2 separate regions of the Homo sapiens genome follow, and region 1 is linked to region 2. Evidence: promoter capture Hi-C in human tissues and cell types (Jung and others, 2019). All regions are on one chromosome and are shown on one strand. The core of a region is centred on a gene start or on the middle of the fragment in contact, and the rest is flanking DNA. Distances in the headings are between cores, read along the strand shown.

Evidence for each region. Contacts are between HindIII fragments. The study calls those that stand out against the background at their distance.
Region 1: a fragment that was not itself captured here is called in contact with the fragment with the promoter of ANKRD53 in region 2 in 3 of the 25 tissues and cell types used here (IMR-90 fibroblasts, mesendoderm cells and thymus).

Annotation. Positions count from the first base shown.
Region 1 is chr2:70,826,540-70,833,053 of GRCh38, reverse strand. It overlaps CD207 (CD207 molecule), which reads left to right. Exons shown (of 6, transcript NM_015717.5): 4 at 3-154; 5 at 1,235-1,353; 6 at 1,854-2,843. The coding sequence ends at 2,004. Among named protein-coding and RNA genes, the nearest start is that of CD207, 6.0 kb to the left of the region's middle. RefSeq lists an enhancer at 1,342-2,541. The HindIII fragment of the contact is 6,837 bases long and covers 1-6,514 here.
Region 2 is chr2:70,973,333-70,979,937 of GRCh38, reverse strand. It overlaps ANKRD53 (ankyrin repeat domain 53), which reads right to left and starts at 1,308. Exons shown (of 6, transcript NM_001115116.2): 1 at 1,123-1,308; 2 at 595-841; 3 at 78-277. The coding sequence starts at 1,292. LOC105374795 (a long non-coding RNA gene) reads left to right here. Exons shown (of 2, transcript XR_001739534.2): 2 at 3,630-6,605. RefSeq lists silencers at 872-931, 1,292-1,381 and an enhancer at 2,409-2,678. The HindIII fragment of the contact is 11,444 bases long and covers 1-6,605 here.

The DNA.
Region 1 (6,514 bases), core at 1,848-4,347, 150 kb after region 2:
AGATGATATTCTACAGGTGGTTTCTCAAGGCTGGAAGTACTTCAAGGGGAACTTCTATTACTTTTCTCTCATTCCAAAGACCTGGTATAGTGCCGAGCAGTTCTGTGTGTCCAGGAATTCACACCTGACCTCGGTGACCTCAGAGAGTGAGCAGGTGAGTGCTGTGCCTATGGGCTCTGTGAAGGGGGCGTATGAGCACTGGGCCAGGGAGGATGGGCAAGATTATACTGCGTGAACAAAAATCCCCAAATATTGATGACCTAATGAAGAAGGATTGGTTCTCAGTAGCATGTCGAATAAGGGCCGGCAAGGGGGCTGTGCTCACTGTGGCTACTCAAGGACCCAGGCCCAAGGAGTCTTCATCTTAATATGTCTCCACAATTGCTGGGGCAGGAAAGGGGAACTTGACATATTGTGCAAAGCTTCTGCCCAGATTTAACATACCTCATTTTTGCTTACATTTCACTAGCTTAAGTTATGTTAATTAAGTTAAGTAAGTTATGCAGTACTCCTGGATTGGGAGGATCCTGGATTCCAGTACTCCTGGAACAGGGCAGAGAGGATCTACTTTCCATGTGCCCAGAAAAAAAGAAATATTTGTGAACAGCCTTAATGATTCCACATGACTCAAGAAGTCTCCTGCCTGGTGAGGCAGAAATTGGGCAGGCCCTTTTCATCTGGGAGGTGGGATAGCAGAGCAGGTCAGAGCCTGGGCTCTGGCGTAGTTCTAGAGCCTGAACCTTGCCATCTAACTAGTCCTAGCAGCTTGGGTGGAATACCCAACTTCACTGGGCAAACTTCACTGGCCCTCACTTGATGAAACATGCATGGTGATGGCACCTGCCTCAGAGGAAAGGAGAGAATGCATATGGACGACTCAGCACAGTGCCGTATGTGGATTCAGGGCTCATTTAATTCAGGTATTATCATATGAACCATTCTCTTGCGGTCCGTGCTCTGGAGTTCAGCTGAGGCCTTCCTGTGCTTCAGCACCTGCTTCCTGAGTGGCAGAAAGGCTTGAGTCCTGAGCTTGTTAGCTGCAGAGCAGGGACACATCATAATCTGGAAGATGAAATCTGGGCTCTGGGCAAGGGCAGGAAGAAGCTTGAGAGGCCAGTTTGTGCAGCGCATCTGTGGGTCAGGGCTGTCACTGAGCGCAGGTGAAGAACACCCAGAGACAGATGATCAAGCTCCAAGTGTGGCCGCACCTCTGCTTATCCTGTCTTTCCTACAGGAGTTTCTGTATAAAACAGCGGGGGGACTCATCTACTGGATTGGCCTGACTAAAGCAGGGATGGAAGGGGACTGGTCCTGGGTGGATGACACGCCATTCAACAAGGTCCAAAGTGTGAGGTAAGCCCCTGGAGCCCTCCGTGCCAGCCTGACTTTCCCCGGCCATGGCCAGGGCATGAAGGGAGTGGGGGCGATGTTCCCCATGAGACAGGGTTTCTGATTCTTCCCTGTCTTAGAGTGACAGGAACATTGCAACCAAGATCGAGCACAACCCTGTCACCAACTGGCTGTGGACCTGAGCCCTCCACGCCCTCTGGGGTTTGGCAACAAGGCCTTCTACCTGGCCAGCTTCAGGGATCTTGTCATGAGTCTAGGTCTTCACAGTGTGGGTTTGTGTAGGGACTTGAAAGTGGTGGGTTGGTTTGGCCTGGACTTGGGGCATGTGAAAGCTTAGAGGTCGAAGTCTCACCAGTCCCCTTCCTCTGAGGCTTGGGTGCAGACATTTGCTATGCCATTCCCTAGGACAAAAGCTTGGGTTGAGTTAACTCATTTCTTCACTGGAAATAAGTTCTTTTTGATTTTCCACTTTGTAAATCCATCTTTTTCCCCGCTCTTGGTAGGTTCTGGATTCCAGGTGAGCCCAACAATGCTGGGAACAATGAACACTGTGGCAATATAAAGGCTCCCTCACTTCAGGCCTGGAATGATGCCCCATGTGACAAAACGTTTCTTTTCATTTGTAAGCGACCCTATGTCCCATCAGAACCGTGACAGGACAGGCTCCCAAGCTCACTCTTTGAGCTCCAACGCTTGTTAAACATGAGGAAATGCCTCTTTCTTCCCCAGACTCCAGGATGACTTTGCACGTTAATTTTTCTTGCTTCAAAATTGTCCCACAGTGGCATTCTGGAGTCCGTCTGTCTTGGCTGGAAATTCTCTGACGTCTTGGAGGCAGCTGGAATGGAAAGGAGAATTCAGGTTAAAGTGGGAGGGGTGGGTAGAGAGGATTTAGAAGTTCCAATTGCCCTGCTAAGGAGGATCAAGACCCGTAATCCGGCATAACACCCTGGGGTTTTCCACTCTTTCAGAGAAACCTCAGCTTCATCACATCAAAGTTACTCCAGAGCAACCAAGCAATTCTCCTGATATTGTCATCCAGGGCTTTTCTTGGCCAAACCCCCTAGAATTTCCATGTCTCTGCTTAGCTGTGCTGGCAGCTAGCAGCTGGCTGTGTTTGCAGTGCAAATAGCTCTGTTCTTGGAAATCCTGCTCATGGTATGTCCCCAGTGGTTTCTTCATCCACATCATCTAAAGCCTGAACCCGTTCTTCTCTGGTTCAAGTCAGTGGCTGACACGGACTTGTATCTCCTTCAGAGCTCGGCTGGCACCCAGCCTCCCTTCTCCTTCCACTCCCTTAGTACACTGGAGTGCCGAGCCCTGCCTTCCACCCAGCGTCCATCCAGCCCCTGTCCTCACCTCTCCGGCACCTCCTCCTCCTTCTGCATTTCCTATCTTCCTGTGTCTTGTGCATGGGAAGCAGCCTTCAGTGCCTTCATGAATTCACCTTCCAGCTTCCTCAGAATAAAATGCTGCCTGGGTCAAGGACTCACTCCAAGTGCACTTTTTCATTTCTGGTTGTCCAGGTGAATATGTGGGAAAGGCAGTCTCCTCTGGTGGACATGAAGTTCTAGGGTATCCTCAGGAAACATCTGGGGAGTCAAAAATAACAAGGACTGGGGAAGTTCCAGTCCTGGAAATGCCACAAAATGTGACCAGTACTTATCTCTAGTTTTTATTAAAGTAGAGCAAGGTCTCCAATGTCACGATCTTGGTGATCTTTCTTCTTGTTTACTGCACAATCTTCTAGTCTATAGCTCAATTCCCAAGAACAAGTCTCAGCAGGTTCCCCACTCTTCACAGAGACCCAGTTCCACAGGCATCAGTTCCAAATCCCAAGTCCAGTGGCTGAAGCTGGAATCCAGGCAGCAGCCACCACAGAGAGGAGAGGAGGGTGGAGTGAGCACAGGTCTTCATTAAGGTCCTCAGGAAAAGATGCTTCCTTAAATAACTGTAACCAGCAGTGTGTTGTTCTGGGTGCAAATGGGTCACAGCTGAGGGCACAGGCTTGTATTGTAAGACCTGAAATACCACGTGCTGCTGTGACATTTTATGCCTCACAGGGCCCCAAAGACCTAACCCTGAGTTCCCTGCCTCTCACCAGATATATCCTTGCCCTCGGTCCCCACCTGGCTAATTTCCTATCATCTGGACCAGCTGCATGCCACCCAGTTTTCTACTTAATGGGTTTCACTTCTCTGCCAGCCTGAGAAACTATTCAAACAAGCCAATCACATCCTCCTACAGGAATCCGGGGCATCTCATCCTTTTATTACTACAAGGCCTGCCTCCCACAGCCCTGGCTGGTTCACTCTGCTCCTGAGGGTGACCCCATGTGGCCCTGTGTGGCTTATGATATCTTTCCCCAGTAGACTGTATTTGTGACTAGTAAACTGCTGCCAGTCTCACCTGCACAGTGTCAAATGTCTTGTTTTGGCCATCTTGTCCTATTTAGAGCAGGGGATCCCTCCCTCACCAATGGAGGAAATGGGAGGTGACAAGAACAAGGCTGGTCGGGGATCTCTGGTTGGTTTTGGCAAAGAGATGAGCTGGGAAAATCAGACCATTTCTCTGGGAAAGAATTTGAACCAGGAAATAGCAAGAGGATGAGGCTGTTAACAAAAGGAAGTTGAGCTGGAAGGCACTGAGTTAAGAGAAAGGCTGGAGGGGCCGTCACGTGGCATTGGAAGAAACTAGCAATGAGCAGAAGCTATGAGGCAGGGGAAAGACATGAATACAGGCCTGGCATGGTGGCTCATGCCTATAATCCCAGCACTTTGGGAGGCTGAAGTGGGTGGGTCACCTGAGGTCAGGAGTTCGAGACAGCCTGGCCAACATGGTGAAACCCCATCTCTACTAAAAATACAAAAATTAGCCGGGCATGGTGGTGGGCACCTGTAATTCCAACTACTTGGGAGACTGAGGCAGGAGAATTGCTTGAATCTGGGAGGCAGAGGTTGCAGTGAGCTGAGATCCCACCACTGCACTCCAGCCTGGGCAACAGGGCAAGACTTTGTTTCAAAAAAAAAGAAGTGACTGCAGAGGATTATAGTTGGCAGAGAAAAGAGAACGGCTCAGAGGAGTCGCAATGGAGGTCCCGGAGGGCAGCCTGAAGGGCTCCGGCTGCTCCCGTTCCCAGGGCTGCCTCAGATCCTCCCAGCCCTTCTGATCCTCCTGGTTTCTGTGCATGGGGACCTTACGAGGCTGTGCTCCTGACCCCAACCATTGCTTTTTCTTGAAACTGAAAGAGCCTGAGTCAGTGAGGATGTGTTTTTATCTGGAGTCTGTGCCCCAGCCTGAACCCAACAAGTGCAGCATTGCCTTGGCTTCCTCCCTTGAGGAAGCTGGGACACCTGTCGCTTTGCTTTGTCTTGTGACTTTGGCTCCCTCCCCCACTGTATGCATGCCTTGCTTCTCCAGGGAGGTCGCTACATGGGCACCTGCCCTTCTGCTGGCAGTGTGGCCTCGCCCAGGAAGTCCCACCATTGATAGTGCTCTAGTCCTGTCTCTAGCAGGTCTTGGGGTGTTATCAATACCTGGGCAGCTCCTCGTATCATGGACCCCACAGTATTTCTTGTGAAATTCTGGGGATTTTTCCATTGTCAGGTGAAAAGTTGGGAGCCAGGGACAGGTGAGAACTTTTTCTCAGTCAACTTGGGTATTTATTGTATTACATTAGTTGTTTTCTTTCTTTTTTTTTCTGATTTGGCAGGCTAACAATGCTTGACATGCCCTCTTTCAATGTTGCAATAAAATACTCTTGAAAAATTTATCCTTTTGTGTTTGAATATAAAAGAAGAGAAAAAAATACTTGAATCACCCCCACTGACCAACTAGTCCTAATGCTCGTGAACATGTACTATATTTTATTTTTCTGTTTTTATGCTTTATTGATCTATCTATCTATTGAATCACTTCATTTTCTCTTTGTCATTCTCTCTCGCTTTCTCTTTCTCTCTCTCCTCTTTTTCTCATATTGTATGAGCTATGCTTTCTTTGCTTTAATTTTCCCAGTGCTTTGGAAGATAAGCCATTATTTGGGTGGGGTGTGTGTGTGTGTGCGCGCACACACGTGTGTAGTTGCCTAGCACTTCCCCTTTTTCTTACAAAGCACCCTGGCTTCTGGGATTATTGGCATTATTCCTGGCATTGTTGCCCTGGTTGGGGCTGGGCCCTGGGCATGGGGGCTGCCATTGGCTCCCTTGGTGACCCCACCTGGCCAGGGCTCCAGGTAGCCCCCAGCAGGGCAATGCGTTGCCTCCCTCACAGATTTCAGGCCCTCCTTTCTCTCTGCCTCTCTGTTCCCATCCCAGACCTCCAAGAACCTCCCCTCCTATCTGTCCCAAGGCAACTTTCTTTTTTTTTTCAGGTCTCAGAATGAATCTCTGTTTTTGGGGGAGAAAACACAGGCTACCCAATTTATGATAAACTCAGTGTGTTTTCAAAAAGGAAACTTTTATTGTTCTGTGGGAGCCTAAAGCGAAAGGATTTCGTAAGGCTTCCTGAGGAAGAGGCACATAAGCTGAGCCTTGAGAGATGAGCAGAATTTAGGCAGAGTGGGATGGGGACACAGACGAGGAAAGAGAGAGAAAACAGAAAATGCAGAGAAGGAGTGTGACAGGCCTGAGGCACCAAGAGAACTCCAGTCTAGCTGGAGTGTGGTGTGAGGTGAAGCAGGGGACAGGCAGCTGTTGGAGGGCCTTCAAAGCCAGAGGAGGGGTTTTGGATTTTATGTGAAGGACAAGGAGGAAACATTGAAGTGTTTTAGGCAGATGAGTGACATCTGTTTTTTACTTAGTGTTGAAGAAGCGTGACAAATGATTTGTTACATTTGAAAGCTTAAATGCTTCCAGGAATAACAAGATCTACAGACATGCAATAGAATTATGTCACTGGAAAACATTTGTCACACTCTTGTGGTTCTTCCTTTATCCTGAACAGCTTCTTGGTTTAGGTATCTTCCTGTATTTTGAGTTCACCTTTTAAAGTTAGAAGCAGAACTAGCACTTACAGCCTTCCTTGCAGAAAAGTGCAGGCATGAGGCTAGATGCTTTGGGAGGCCCTTTGGGAGCCAAGGCAGGAGGATCACTTGAGGCCAGGAGTTGAAGATCTGCTTGGTCAACCCAGTGGGACCCCGTCTCCACAAAAAATACAAAAAAAATTA
Region 2 (6,605 bases), core at 59-2,558:
TGGATTTGCCTGCCTGGAAGTAGGGCTGTGCCCGTGCCTGTGCCCGAAGCCTCCCTCCTGAAGCAGGCTGGACTCACGCATTGAGGTCTGCGCCTTTCTCCAGCAGGTAGTAGATGCAGGGGAGGGCCACGGTGGTGTTGTCCCTGTGGATGACGAGGTGCAGGGGTGTCTGGCTATTGTTGGTCAGCAGGTCCACGGGAAACTTGTACTCCTCTACCAGGACCTGCAGGCATGCAAGCTTGCCCCATTGGGCGGCGAAGTGGATGGCAGTGAAGCCCTGTGAGGTTCAGAGCAGGCAGGAGGAGGCTGAGTGGGACTGAGGTCCCAGGGTCCACAATTTATATAAATTTATTGGGGTTACCTTCACTTTCTTCCCTGTGTCCCCAGGAATGCTCACACCCTTTTGCTAATTAACCAGTGTGTGTTCATCAGCCCACCCAACCTCCCTGCCCCCAAAATGGTCCTTCCACAGCCAGAAGATGAGTTAAATTAGGAAGATCTACCCAGAAAAGGATATCTCTTCTCCAGGTGACCACTCCGAGCAGCGTAGCGGGAGAGGGACCTCGGTCTTTGCCCCAACACTCAAGACCTTACCTTGTCGTCGGTGGGGATTTCCCTGAGGCTCTGGTTCAGACAGAATCGCAGCCATTCCACGTTGCCCACAGCCGCTGCGAACAGCTGGTAGTAGCTCCCGATCGCCGTCTGGTCGATTGCCGTCTGGTCGGACTCCTTGCTGGGGCTGGGGTCAGCGCGGGGCGGGGTGAGCGAGGCAGGGCGGCGCGGCCTGGCGAGGGCAGTCGCCTGCGCACTGAGGTGGTCTGCGAGGTCGGGCAGGGGCTGGCTGGAGGGCGGGGCAGTGGGGAAGCGACTCTGGGCCACGGCCCGGGCACCTCTCGGGAGGCGATCCCTGGCCCCCGCCTGGCTGGTGGGCGGGGCAGTGGGGAAGCGACTCTGGGCCACGGCCTAGGCACCTCTCGGGAGGCGATCCCTGGCCCCAGCCTGTCTCTGCTGGCTTCTCGGGCCGCAGCCTCCGCCCCCGCCCGCTCCAGGCCCTGCCCACCAGGGAGGCGCTGGGCCGGGTTCTCGCTCCCTGCAGCCGGGACACCTTCTCCCGCTACCCACCTGGGCTGCTTGGACTCCGCGTCAGTCCAGGTGGCCTTCAAGGAGACTTTGTTCGCCTGCTGCATGGAGCCACTTGGAGTTGGCTGCGGCCGAGCACCTCTCCCTTCTCCCCTTTCTGAGTGCCAGCTTCCGGAGCCCGCCCGCCGAGCGGTGCTGCCCGCGGAGGCCATCGCGGGGCTGGAACTCGGACCCGGGCCGGGCGGGCTACTCACACACCCGCCGGCGCCCCGCCCCCGGGGGCCACTCCTTGCCAGCTGGCCGCGGTTTCCCGGCCCCTTCCAGGCCGCTAGGGTTCGGCTGCCTCTCTAGCTGGAGGGGCAGAGCCCGGGGGCCTCCGGGGACCCTGCCCGCCTGCCGCTCCCCACCCGCCGCTCTGCTCCCGGTCTGAGCCAAAACCCCCACTCAACCTCCCAGTCCTGCTGCCCGGGAAACTCAGCATCAAACACACAAACAACAAAGACACTTGGCTTTTGTTTCCGATTATCAAACTAATAAGTAGAAAACAGAAATATTCAATGTGGAAATTAAAAATTACCATCCCACCACGCACAGAAATCATGGTTTATTGCAATATATATGCATATCATGACTATTTTTTGTATCTCTTTTCGTTTATTAATAGCATTATATTACGAGCTAGCGCCCATTGTCACTCCACATACTAAACGTACATTATGACGCAACCAGAGCCCAGCGTCATAATGGATGTGCCATTGTTTCACATGTGCTGCCAAGAACGAAATGGCTCAACTCTGGTTGTTTTCTTAGAATGGATTCCTGGGAGTCGAATCACTAGGTGAAAGGGAATGAATATTTTTCAGCTGTCAATATGGGCTTGCAGACTGCCTTCCAGGAAGGTTATTATTCACTTCCACTTCCACCTGCAGTGAAGCGGGTGCGCTGCACATCAGCAGTGTGGCTTTTGGCAAGTTATCTGACTTAGTTTCTGTGGGCGGCAAGCCACCCAGGTGCCAAGGCAAGAGACCGAGGGCACAAGCTGTTCCAGTATAATAAAATATACAAAACAACAAGAGTTATACTAGATCTAGATCTAGATCATAGACGTGATTATATATGAATATCGTTAATCATTAGTTTGTAGCAATTACTCTTTATTCCAATATTGTAATAATCCTCGCTCTATAATCATAACCTAGGAAAAACCAGGCCATAGAGAGATAGGAACCAAAGGGACATAGTGAGAAGTGACCAGAAGACAAGAGTGCGAGCCTTCTGTTATGTCCGGACAGGGCCACCAGAGGGCTCCTTGATCTAGCGGTAATGCCAGCGTCTGGGAAGACGCCGGTTACCAAGTGGACCGTGGTCTGGCGGACCCTGGTCTGGCGGACCGTGGTCTAGCGGTAGCATCAATGCAAAGGAAAAGCACCCGCTACTTAGCAGACCGGGAAAGGGAGTCTCCCTTTCCCAGGGGGAGTTTAGAGAAGACTTTACTCCACCACCTTTTGTGGAGGGCTTGACATCAGTCAGGCCCGCCCACAGTTATCTGGAGGCCTAAACATCTCCCTGTGACGCTGTACTTCAGCGGTCACACTCCTGTTTCACTTTCATGTTCCATCCTGTACATCTGGCTCTGCCTTCTAGATAGCAGTAGCAAAATTAGTGAAAGTACTAAAAGTCTCTGATACACAGAAATAATGGCGTAAGCTGTCCTCTCTCTCTCTCTCTCTCTCCCTCCCCCTGTCCCCGCCCCCACCCCCACCCACCTCGGCTGCCAAGCAGGGAAGGGCCCCCTGTCCGGTGGACACGTGACTCACGTGACCTTATCAATCATTGGAGATGACTCACACTCCTTACCCTGCCCCTTTTGCCTTGTATCCAATAAATAACAGCACAGCCAGGCATTCGGGGCCACTACCGATCTCTGCCCTCTTGGTGGTAGTGGTCCCCCGGGCCCAGCTGTCTTTTCTTTTATCTCTTTGTCTTGTGTCTTTATTTCTACAATCTCTCATCTCCGCACACGGGGAGAAAAACCCACCCACCCTGTGGGGCTGGTCCCTACAAGTTGCTACAGCAGCAAAATGGGGATAATAGCACCTACTTTACAAGGAATGAAGGAATGCAAACAATGAGAACAGTGCTAGCAGAGAAGCACTACCTGTGAATCTGCTATTACTCAAAGAAGAACTATTCAAACCATTGCTAGCATCAGATATTAGGATTTTAAGTAAATGTTCACTAATTTGGTAGTGGAAATGATGTTCTAATGTGGCTCTTTGATTACCAACAAGGGTTAAACATTTAATTATCAGTGGTTTTGTCTTCTAGGAATTCTTTTACTCACATGGTTCTTTGAGGGCCTTAATGTGTTTCTTACTGATCTGTAAAACTTATTAGCATAGTGACCCTTTATGTATGTTATATTTGTTGTCAATATTTTCCTCAGTTTGCCTTTTGACTTTTTAGAATATAGAGTAGCTAAGCAATAACTGTTGCTTGAATCAGTGTTGTCTTACTGAGCCATCCACATTCTCATCCCTTCTCAACAGGAATGACCCCAAGTTTATCAGAAGGCTCCTGTGGCTCCAGGGTCAACTCTGGGCATATCTGACTACATCACTCCACCCCTACCATGGTCTCTCCTCTGTACCCCAGCGTTCCAGGTATTTCCCCTAAGAAAAGGACAGAAGGTCCCCTAAGACCACAGTGACCTGCAGAGAGGGACAAGAATACAGATTATCCACCCAGAATCACGTTTCTCCCTTTCCAGGGTACTGTCTTCTGAGAGCGCACTTGTCTGCCAACCCCAGTAGCCAGGACTCAGCATACCTGGCAAACACCTTCAAAACTAGCAAATCATGCTGGCTATCTGCCCCAGGTAGGGCCTTAGCAACTGGCTTCAAGTTGAGATAAAGTGACAGTGCTTTTCAGGGATACAGTTTGAAGATTTCCTGGGCTATTGTTGCTTCTGGGGTGTTAGGATTCTAATAATTACAACAGGACCCTGTGTATGTGGTGGGGTTGGAGAGAGCATCTCAGTACCTCTCCAAGTTCATCCTCACTATCTTGAACTGGGGTATCTTACATCTCTATACCAGTGTTTTGCAACCCTGGCTGTACAAACACCAATGCAGGGGTCTTACCCCTACAGATTCTGATTAATTCATCTGGTTTGGGGCCTGGGCATTGGTATTTGTAAAGTTCTCCAGGTGATTCTCGTGTGTAGCCAGGGTTGAGAACCACTTTAAGGCCTTTCTGCCTCAGTCAGGGAGGCAAGAGGCTGCAGGTGATTTTGAGGGAGAAGGGTCAATAGAGTAAGGGAGGAAGAAACAGGAAACTAGCAGAGTCCCCGGGGGGAGAGAATGTGTTATCCTAAAGACCCTTGGTCACAGCCATGCAGCTGGGCAAACAGATAACGCCTGGTGGAACAACAGAAGCTGGACCATGAGAAGGGCAGACAGCAGAAAATGCCCAGAGAAGGGTTCAATTTCTTCTTTGGAAGGTGATGGTAAGGGTGTGGCTCCAGATTAACTGGTTCTACAGCTCCAGGCAAGGGAGATGGAAGGCTGAGGGGAGCAGGTCCATCAGGGAGCAGTTGGGGGAGAACCTAGAGAGGCACTGTCTGTACACTCCAGGGCCAGTGCCCAAGGCCAGATGCTCCTCATCTATTCTCTAAACCACCCCAGGATCCTCTTGAAGCTTAAGCTAGTTTAGATTGAGCTTCTGTCACTTTCAACTGAAGCTTGACTAGTAAAAACTCCTGAGGTTAAAGCCTCTATTGGGTAAAAGAATTAGAACCAGTGGGATAGTCCCAGAAAAGAGCTGTGTGGGCTAGGGGCACTGTGAAGACCCAGGGGACATTGGAACCTGGCCCTGTGCTGTCTTCCAGGAGGAGTGGTACACCCCAGAGAAATGGCCAGGTACGTGAAACTAAAGAATCATGCTTGGAGTGCTGAGATCCATTTGTCTGAGCAGGAACACACCCTAAGATGGGCCTAGGCTGTGGAAGCTGACACTTTCACTGTGGCCAGGCAGCGTGCTCGCTCATGAATGGGAGCAGGGTGGGGGAACTTGGCTGTGAGAATTGGGAGTCCTCCAGTGGTGAGTCTGGGTTCTGGCTGTGGTGGTAATGGGGTAGGAAACAGGACTTTCAGAACAGCACCCTGGAGTATCCATTTGGAAGGAAGTGGATAATGCTTTTGGGGGAGAAAGAAAAATTTGAAAGACAGGTTCTAATGGGTGGGAGAGGGAATGTCTGCCTCTTGGGACCAGATTTGGAGGAAGGCAGGTGTCTGGGTGCCCACTATATTGTAGGGGTGGGGAGCTCTGCTCAGGACAGGAACCCTAAAGAACAAGTCATACCCCTTAAATCAGATTTACATTGAGGGAAAAAAGGAGTTCACTACGAGAGCCTATCCAAGTCCCTAAACAAACAAGCAAACAACAAAAACAAGCCCGAGAGGGGGGAAGGGATATCAGAATTCAGAGTTACTACAATATATTTCCTAAAAAGTTTAATTTTCAACAAAAAACCATGAGATATACAAATAAACATGACCCATACATAGGGGGAAAAAAGCAGACAACAGAAACTGCCTATGAAAGAGGCCAGATATCAGATTTAACAGACCAAGACTTCAAACCAGCCATTAAAGCTATGTTTAAAGAACTAAAGGAAACTATGATTTAAAAAAGTAGAAGAAGGTATGGTGACAATTTCTCAACAAATAGAGACTATCGATAAGGTAAACCATTAAAAAATAATCCAATGAATTCTGGAATTGCAGAGTATAATAATTGAAACAAAAAATTCACTAGAGAGGAACAATAGTGGATTTGAACTTGCAGAAGAAACGATCAGCAAACTTGAAGATAGGCAGTAGAGATTATGCAATCCAAAGAACAAAGAGAAAAAAGAATGAAGGAAAACAGAGCCTCAAAAAAAGTCGGGGGGCACCATTAGGCACACCAACATACTCATAATGGGAATTCCAGAAGGAGAGATGAGAGAAAAGAGCAGAGAAAGTAATTGAAGAAGCAATGGCTGAAAATTAGCCAAGTTTGATGAAAAAGATTAATCTACACATTTAAGAAAGCTCAGCAAACTCCAAGTAAGTTAAACACAAATATATCCACACCTAAGCTCATCATACTAAAAATGCTGAGAGACAAAGTTTTCAAAGCAGCAAGAGAAAAAGAACAAATCACATTCAAGGGAACCTCAATAAGATCAATAGCTGAATTCTCATCAGAAACAATGGAGGCCAAAAGGTAATGGGTAACATATTCAAAATGCTGAACAAAAAACAACTCTCAAGAATTTTATATCCAGAAAAGCTATCTTTGAAAATAAAGGCAAAATAAAGACATTGCCTGACAAACAAAAACTCAGAAAATTTGTTGCTAGCATCCCTGCCTTACAAGAATTACTAATGGAAGTTCTTCAGACTAGAAGTAAGTGACCCCACACCATAATCTGAATCTTCACAAAATAAAAACAAAACAAATCCAAAGAGCACTGGTAA